Linked DNA regions of Homo sapiens: regions 1 and 3 are each linked to region 2. The links are contacts of gene promoters, found by promoter capture Hi-C in human tissues and cell types (Jung and others, 2019). All regions are on one chromosome and are shown on one strand. The core of a region is centred on a gene start or on the middle of the fragment in contact, and the rest is flanking DNA. Distances in the headings are between cores, read along the strand shown. Region 1 has its middle 6.3 kb from the start of LINC01690. Region 2 holds the start of IFNAR2 (interferon alpha and beta receptor subunit 2). Region 3 has its middle 7.3 kb from the start of DNAJC28.

What was found. Contacts are between HindIII fragments. The study calls those that stand out against the background at their distance.
Region 1: a contact is called between a fragment that was not itself captured here and the fragment with the promoter of IFNAR2 in region 2, in 1 of the 25 tissues and cell types used here (stomach).
Region 3: a fragment that was not itself captured here is called in contact with the fragment with the promoter of IFNAR2 in region 2 in 1 of the 25 tissues and cell types used here (lymphoblastoid cells).

The regions. Positions count from the first base shown.
Region 1 is chr21:32,951,210-32,953,909 of GRCh38, forward strand. No RefSeq gene overlaps it. Among named protein-coding and RNA genes, the nearest start is that of LINC01690, 6.3 kb to the right of the region's middle. The HindIII fragment of the contact is 5,013 bases long and covers 1-2,700 here.
Region 2 is chr21:33,228,633-33,231,332 of GRCh38, forward strand. It overlaps IFNAR2 (interferon alpha and beta receptor subunit 2), which reads left to right and starts at 1,306. Exons shown (of 9, transcript NM_001289125.3): 1 at 1,306-1,584. IFNAR2-IL10RB (IFNAR2-IL10RB readthrough) reads left to right here and starts at 1,306. Exons shown (of 13, transcript NM_001414505.1): 1 at 1,306-1,584. RefSeq lists silencers at 1,123-1,582, 1,643-1,702, 1,723-1,772. The HindIII fragment of the contact is 14,450 bases long and covers 1-2,700 here.
Region 3 is chr21:33,497,641-33,500,349 of GRCh38, forward strand. No RefSeq gene overlaps it. Among named protein-coding and RNA genes, the nearest start is that of DNAJC28, 7.3 kb to the left of the region's middle. The HindIII fragment of the contact is 5,228 bases long and covers 1-2,709 here.

The DNA.
Region 1 (2,700 bases), core at 60-2,559, 280 kb before region 2:
CTGAGGCCGTGTTCTCTGTGCTTCTTAAAGGGAGCCACTTGCAAGCTAAGAAGCTGCCCATTTTTAGGATCAATATGGTATTCCCCCAAGTTGGTTAGAAAACACAATGGCAGGGACAGAATTTGCAGCAGGGGTTTGTAGAGGATTAGGGCTGCTTCGCCAGGATTTATCGCCCCATGCACAACCCAGACTGAAACCCTGGTCGCAGTCTGGGTGGTTTAGAATGAGCCAACAGGCATTGCCATCAGTTTTAGGCCTTTGAAAAGTAAAATCTTCCCAACGTGCAAAAAGTAACCACTAAAAATGGACCATAACCAGATGCAAAGAAAGAATGAAAGATTGTGAAAGGAAAAAAAAATTCTGAAACTGTATTTGGAAGGTTCCTGCAGAAGGGGTCCTTCTGAAAGTATGCAGCAGGCTTCATAGCTTGCCCAACAGTCATGTACATTTCAGAATGTAACTTTCCAAAGCAAGTTGCTTCTTTGCTTTACTACCTGCAGAGAGCCACCTGCTTCATTTAATCGTGCTTTGGGTTCTGTTTTATTTTTACTGTATCCCATTTTCCAGGGCAAAAAGCAGAAAGCAAATAAAACCACATTTTTGCTACTAACTTAATATGAAATCTATTTTAATTCAGAATGATTTCCCTCCACTTTTATTTTAAAACATGTTTAAGAAGAAAAGCAAGCTTAGAGGATTTCTGGTCCTAAATACAGCGATTTCAAGGATTGTTATCAAAACCCTGAAGGGCAGTGTTAAAGAATGGGATAACCTTGAAATATAGGATGGCTAAGAAGTGAGAGCAAAATATCACTCACTAGTGGCTATTTGTAACCAGAGTTATGCCAGGGAAGGGAGAAAGCAGTGAGAGCCGGCAATATTTGAGACGGAAAGAGATGACAGAGAAAGGTATCTTTAGCGAGGAAAGCATTTAGTGACTTTAAATCAGATGCCAAAAGAATATTTACTGGGGGAAAAATCAATTTTTCTGTGCTGTGGAGGAAGCATTTCAAAGTAAGACAACCTTTATTTCCAAATGCCTTCTGGAGGCCCTCCCCGGAGGACACAACACCAACGCTATTAATCTTGACTTAGTGAATGAACGTATTATACGGATTTCAATCCAGATCTTCAAGTCTTAAAGAGTTCTGAAGAGCCCAGATAAAGCAACCCGTTTTTCCTTTGGTGATTCCTCAGGGGTAACTCACTTTAATTCCCCTTTCATCTCTATGGGAGGACTCGGAACTTTAAAAGCAAACAGGTTTCCTATACTAATTCCTGGAGAGAAGGCTTCTGTTGCTTTCTTGCTGCTGCGAGACTGAAGGTGGGTGACCATCTTCATTTGTTACCTTGGAAGATGTGGAGAACCAGAAGTAAGTTTGAAATAATAGGCCAACGGTAGCTGTCTCCTTTCTTCGAGGAAAGTTATTGCCCTTCCAAATGCCAGTTTGTTTTTTGATTTTCCACGGTCCAGCCCCGTATTTAACACAGAAAGATGCTTTAGAAGCCAGAACACTGATAATAACCCCAAATATACACAAAGACAAAGCAGAGGGCATGCCTGTTTTGTCCCGTCAGACAAATTATGATCTAAATTTTCTGCCAACACCACTTTTTTTCCCCTGATTGTTTATGGCAACAGCAGCCTGTTTATTGAGATTCTAAACTGCAATGAAATTTTCTGGGATTGAAAAAAAGAGAATAAGAGAGTTAGAGAGAGAGAGAAGGCTTATTATGTAGAAGTAAACTGTTTCAAATGGAAACCTGACTCCCATTGTGGAAAGGGAAAGCATTGAGGAAAATTACGCCAGATTATCTAGGCTAAAGGAAAAATTTTATGCCTCACTGTGCCACTTGCAAGGAACAGGAGAGGAAAGAAAACACAGAAACTGTGTGGCAACAAATGACTAAATTGGGACGCAGAGATAGCAGCCTTGCTAGGTTCAGTCCAACTTGTACAAGAATGGTAACAACCTAAGGCAGAGATATACCAACAATTATCTGTTACCCAGGGATTATATTAATAAAACAGCCAGGGAGGGAAATGGCTCCATTTAACTAACTTTTTTTTTTTTTTTTTTTTTTGGGGGGGAGTTGGAGTCTTGTTCTGTTGCCCAGGCTGGAGTGCAGTGGCGCAATCTCGGCTCACTGCAACCTCTGCCTCCTGGGTTGAAGCAATTCTCCTGCCTCAGCCTCCCGGGTAGCTGGGATTACAGGCACCCGCCACTGCACCCGGCTAATTTTTGTATTTTTAGCAGAGATGGGGTTTCACTATCTTGTCCAGGCTGGTCTGGAACTCCTGACCTCATGATCCAACCATCTTGGCCTCCCAAAGTGCTGGGATTACAAGGGTGAGCCAACGCACCCAGCTACTACATTTTGACATAAAGTCCGAAGACGGGACACAGGTCAGCACTTTTCATCCTAAAGGGTTATCAAAAGACATCAACTTGTATAAAAACTGGTGTGAAAATCGAGTGATGTTTTAGTTGATGTCATATGTTTTGTTCTCTCATGTGTCCAGATCCCGGAATAGGCTGAGAAAAATAGAACCTGGAGTGTAAAAAGAAAAAAGAAACATGTTAGTGGATATAGGACATTTTGCAGCTCTCAATTTGATCTGTTCCACAGTCGTCACACAGGATGAGAAGATTGTAGGAATGTGGAAAAAATTAGAATAACCTTGCATTTCGAGTTATG
Region 2 (2,700 bases), core at 56-2,555:
TGGTGGGAATTCTGCCAAGGGTCACATAAGAGGCAGGACCGTGACATCCTCTTTATGATCACCCTTGTGCCTAGCCTTAAAGGAGTATCAGCAAATGTTGGTTGACTTCATAGATTAAAAGGCTCATTTTTCCCATCTACAAAAAGTATGAAACATCCTCCTCCTCCCTTTCCTAGGAGGCCAGAAAGCTGAACGAGAGATTAAATACTCAGTTAAAACAATTTAGGTGGTTAGTGTATCTTTTCCCTCTCCTTCAAAAAGATATTAACATTTCCATTTTAGTAGCTGTAATGTTTAGAATATACATACATTTTACTTGAAAGCTGCCTCATAGTCTATTTTGGTTTTGGATTTTCTTTTTTTTTTCGTTTTTCTTGAGACAGAGTTTCGCTCTTGTCTCCCAGGCTGGAGTGCAATGGTGCAATCTCAACTCACTGCAACCTCCACCTCCCAGGTTCAAGCAATTCTCCTGCCTCAGGCTCCCAAGTAACTGGGATTACAGGCGCCCGCCACCACGCCCAGCTAATTTTTGTATTTTTAGTACAGACAGGGTTTCACCATGTTGGTCAGGCTGGGTCTTGAAGTCCTGACCTCAGATGGTCCATCTGCCTTGGCCTCCCAAAGTGCTGAGATAACAGGTGTGAGCCACCGCTCCCGGCCTCATAGTCTATTTTAGAAGTTGACAGGCTATAAATAACAAGCAGACAAATTAATGAAGAACATCTGTCTTTCTGCCTATCCCGAAACACGTTGATCAGTGGGGGGTCGAGGGAAGGGTAGGAGTATGGAGAAGAGACCCGCGGAGAAGAGGGGAGAATCTACAACGGATAATGTTGTAGATATTTACAACATTTACTCAATGGTAGGTATTTTTATCCTCGTTTTACTAGTTGGAGAATTATATCATGCAGGTTTATACAATTAACAAGTGGGGGAGCCAGGAGAGAACCCATTCACTCTTTAGTTCATTCATTCATTCAGTCAGTCAACACATCTTTGGGTGTCTTCTAAATGCCAGGCACTATTCTAACCCCTAAGGATACTTCAGTAAACAAAACAGTCCCAAATTCTTCCCCTATGGAGCTTTCTCGGCGAAGGCGGGATTGGTTAGGAGCTGACAATCGGCAGCAGACGATTGTAAATGACCGGACCTTTTTTCTATTCTCCTGCCCAGCCCCCGGCCCGGCCTCCGCCTCCGGCCCTGCTCCAGCCCCGCCAGCGGCCCAGGACCCGCCCCTGGCTCCGGCCCCGCCCCTGGCTCCGCCCCCGCCCCCGCGCCGGCGGCGGCGCGGCGCCCGCGCTTCCGTATCGCTCCTCGTAGGCCGGGGCTCGGCGCGCGCACCCGCACTAAAGACGCTTCTTCCCGGCGGGTAGGAATCCCGCCGGCGAGCCGAACAGTTCCCCGAGCGCAGCCCGCGGACCACCACCCGGCCGCACGGGCCGCTTTTGTCCCCCGCCCGCCGCTTCTGTCCGAGAGGCCGCCCGCGAGGCGCATCCTGACCGCGAGCGTCGGGTCCCAGAGCCGGGCGCGGCTGGGGCCCGAGGCTAGCATCTCTCGGGAGCCGCAAGGCGAGAGCTGCAAAGGTAACGCAGCGTGGCGGGGTCGCGGGAGCGGAGCGCGTGGCCAGCTGACTGGAGGGAAAACGCCGCCTCCCTGCAGCGGTTCCCGGAATCCCCTCCGGTTCCCTCTCGCTCTCCCCGACTCCTCCTCCTCCTCCTGCCCTCCCTCTGCGTCTTGAGTATGCGGCTAGTGCGCCCTTCCTCTCTCCCGGGGCCGCACCTGCGACCCCAGGACCCCTCCCGGGCCCTGTCCTGCGCCCTCCACGCGTCGCCCCTGCTGGGAGTCCGCTTTCGTTGCACCCCTCCGCGTCCCACCCCACCCCACCAAGGATGCCCAGGATACCGGGCATTTGCCACTGCAAGATGTGAGTCGTTGCTAAGTTTGAGGGTCACATTCCTCCAGGTCCACCCCGCCTTGCAAAACCGGCTCACCAGCTGGGTGCTCAGGTTCGGGATCTCCAGCCCGCCCCCTTGAGGTCCCCTGGGATTAGCCCCCCTCGACCTGCGTCAGGGTCACAGACTGCAGCCGGGGCTGGAGCGGCCTACACCCCTCCGGATCCGCTGCGTGGAGGCAGGAGGGGGAAGGGGCGAGGGGACGTGGCCGCGGAGACAGAAGGGTGCACCCTCCCAGGGTCGGAGAGGGGAGATACTGGGAAGATACTCCGCGAATATGGAGAGGCGATCGGCACTTGCATTTCAACCCTGAGCAAATCAATCCGTTACACGCAGTAGCGAGTTGACTCCATCAGCCCGTTTATTTGGTTAGCGATGGTTATATTGACTCTGAGTATTCCCACCTCCTTTCTTTTAACATTTTTTTTTTTATTTCCTTGTTTTGTTTAGCAAGAAGTCTTAGAAACGAATATAGCATGCTTGGGCGTTGATTCAGTGGTGAGAAGTGCCGGAGCTGGCTCAGGGAGAGGTGGAGTTTCCCATGTGTGCTCACTGGCCCAGGGGCTAAGTCCCACTGCTTGCCAAGGTTTCTCAGTATCCTGTCCACCCACCCCCTATCCACCTGTGCAGGCTTGAGGGGGTGAGGGGGTAGCAGATACTCTATCAAAATCTACCCTAAGGAAAATATTCGATAAACACTCCTAGCAATTAGGGCATAGCTGATAAGGCTTGATCTGTTTGTCGCAG
Region 3 (2,709 bases), core at 14-2,513, 270 kb after region 2:
GTGACTTTCTGGAGTTTGGTGATGTCGGAAATTTAAAATGCTGTTTGGGGCCAGGTGCGGTGGCTCATGCCTGTAATCCCAGCACTTTGGGAGGCTGAAGTGGGCGGATCACCTGAGGTCAGGAGTTCGAGACCAGACTGGCCAACATGGTGAAACCCTGTCTCTACTGAAAATATAAAAATTAGCTGGGAGTCCGGGCATGGTGGCTGTTTGTAATCCCAGAACTTTGGGAGGCCAAGGCCGGCAGATCACCTGAGGTCGGGAGTTCGAGACCAGCCTGACCAACATGGAGAAACCCCATCTCTACTAAAAATACAAAAATTAGCTGGGCGTGGTGGCGCGTGCCTGTAATCCCAGCTACCTGGGAGGCTGAGGCAGGAGAATCACTTGAACCCGGGAGGCATAGGTTGCAGTGAGCTGAGATCTTGCCACTGCACTCCAGTCTGGGCGACAGAGCTAGACTCCGTCTCAACAAAACAAAAAACAAAACAAAACAAAACAAAAAAAAGCCTGGGTGTGGTGGCTCACGCCTGTAATCCCAGCAATTTGGGAGGCCGAGGCAGGTGGATCACGAGGTCAGGAGTTAGAGACCAGCCTGGCCAAGATGGTGAAACCCCATCTCTACTAAAAATACAAAAATTAGCCGGGCGTGGTAGCGGGTTCCTGTAATCCCAGCTACTTGGGAGGCTGAGGCAGAGAATTGCTTGAATCGGGGAGGCAGAGTTTGCAGTGAGCCGAGATTGCACCACTGCACTCCAGCCTTGGTGACAGAGTGAGACTCTGACTCAAAAAAAAAAAAAAAATTGTTGTTGAGGTTTCAGTGTCCACAGATATTTCAATTCATGAAACTTTCATTTTATAAAGCAAAATCAACTTGTAATATTAAAATCTTCACATCTTTATTGCAATGCTCAGAATACAGGTGGCTCAGGAGTTAGCTTCTTAAATAAGTTTACACATGAGGATTATCAGGTTAACAGATGGGGGATTTGAGGATTAGGCTTGCTACTGAGTCTTTAATATGATTTCTGTTACAAAGCCTGGAAGTTGGAAGTTCTACCTATATTCATTTAAAAGACTTCATGTTCTGAATGTGAAGCATGTTCAATGTACTCGTTGTATTTAAAAAAACTATGAATCAAATTTTTTATAAAAAAAGATTTTTTTTTTTTTTTTTAGGCCAGGCGCGGTGGCTCATGCCTATAATCCCAACACTTTGGGAGGCCGAGGTGGGCAGATTGCTTGAGGTGGGGAGTTCCAGACCAGCCTGGCCAGCATAGTGAAACCCCGTCTCTACTAAAAGTACAAAAATTAGCTGGGCATGGTGGTAAACACCTATAATCTCAGCTATTCAGGAGGCTGAAGCAGGAGAATCCCTTGAACCCGGGAGGCAGAGGTTGCAGTAAGCTGAGATCGCGCTACTCCACTCCAGCCTGGGTAACAGAGTGAAACTCCATCTGAAAAAGAAAAAAAATTGATTTGTTTTTTTTGAGTGACAGACAAGTTGGGTCTCTCCTTTTGGGAAACAGTTTTAGAGATATAATTCATATGCCATGCAATCATGAATTTGACATGTACATTCAATGGCTTTCAGTACATTCTTGTGGTTGTGCAACTATCACTGCAATCAATTCTAGAACATTTTCATCACTCAAACAAAAACCCCTGTACCCTTTTTTTGTCACCCCAAATACCTCTATCCACCTTAGGCAACAACTAATCTATTTTCTGTCTTCTGGATTTGCCTATTCTGGACATTTCCTTATTAAATGTTATTCATTATTATTAGGATTTTTTTTTTTTTTTTTTTGAGACAGAGTCTTGCTCTGCCACTCAGGCTGAAGTGCAATGGTGCCATCTCGTCTCACTGCAACCTCCACCTCCCAGGTTCCAACGATTCTCCTGCTTCACTCTCCCAAGTAGCTGGGATTAGAGGCACCTGCCACCATGCCCAGCTAATTTTTGTATTTTTAATAGAGACGGGATTTCACCATTTTGGCCAGGCAGGTCTTGAACTCCTGACCTCAAGTGATCCGCCTGCCTCGACCTCCCAAAGTGCTGAGATTACAGGCGTGAGCCACCGTGCTCGGCCTCAGTTATTATTATTAGTTTTAGAGACAGGGTCTCACTTTGTTGCCCAGGCTGGAGTGTAGTGGCATGATCTCAGCTCGATTGCACTCAACCTCCTAGGCTCAAGTGATCCTCCCACCTCAGCCTCCCAAGTAGCTGGGACTACATGTGTGTGCCACCACACCTGGCTAATTTTTTTTTTTTTTTTTGAGACGAAGTTCCCCTCTGTCGCCCAGGCTGGAGTGCAGTGGCGTGATCTCGGCTCACTGCAACCTCCGCCTCCAGGGCTCAAGCAGTCCTCCTGCAGGCTTCAGCCTCCCGAGGAGCTGGGACTACAGGCACATGCTCCATGCCTGGCTAATTTTTGTATTTTTAGTAGAGATGGGGTTTCAGCATGTTGGCCAGGCTGGTCTCAAACTCCTGACCTCAAGTGGTCCACCCACCTCGGCCTCCCAAAGTGTTGGGATTACAGGCGTGAGCCACCGCGCCCGGCCCTTTCTTTCTTCTACTTCTTATTATTTTTGAGACAAGGTCTCACTCCGTCACCCAGGCTGGAGTGCAGTGGTGTAATCCCAGCTCAATGCAACCTCCACCTTCCAGGTTCAAGTGGTTCTCCTGCTTCAGCTTCCAGAGTAGCTG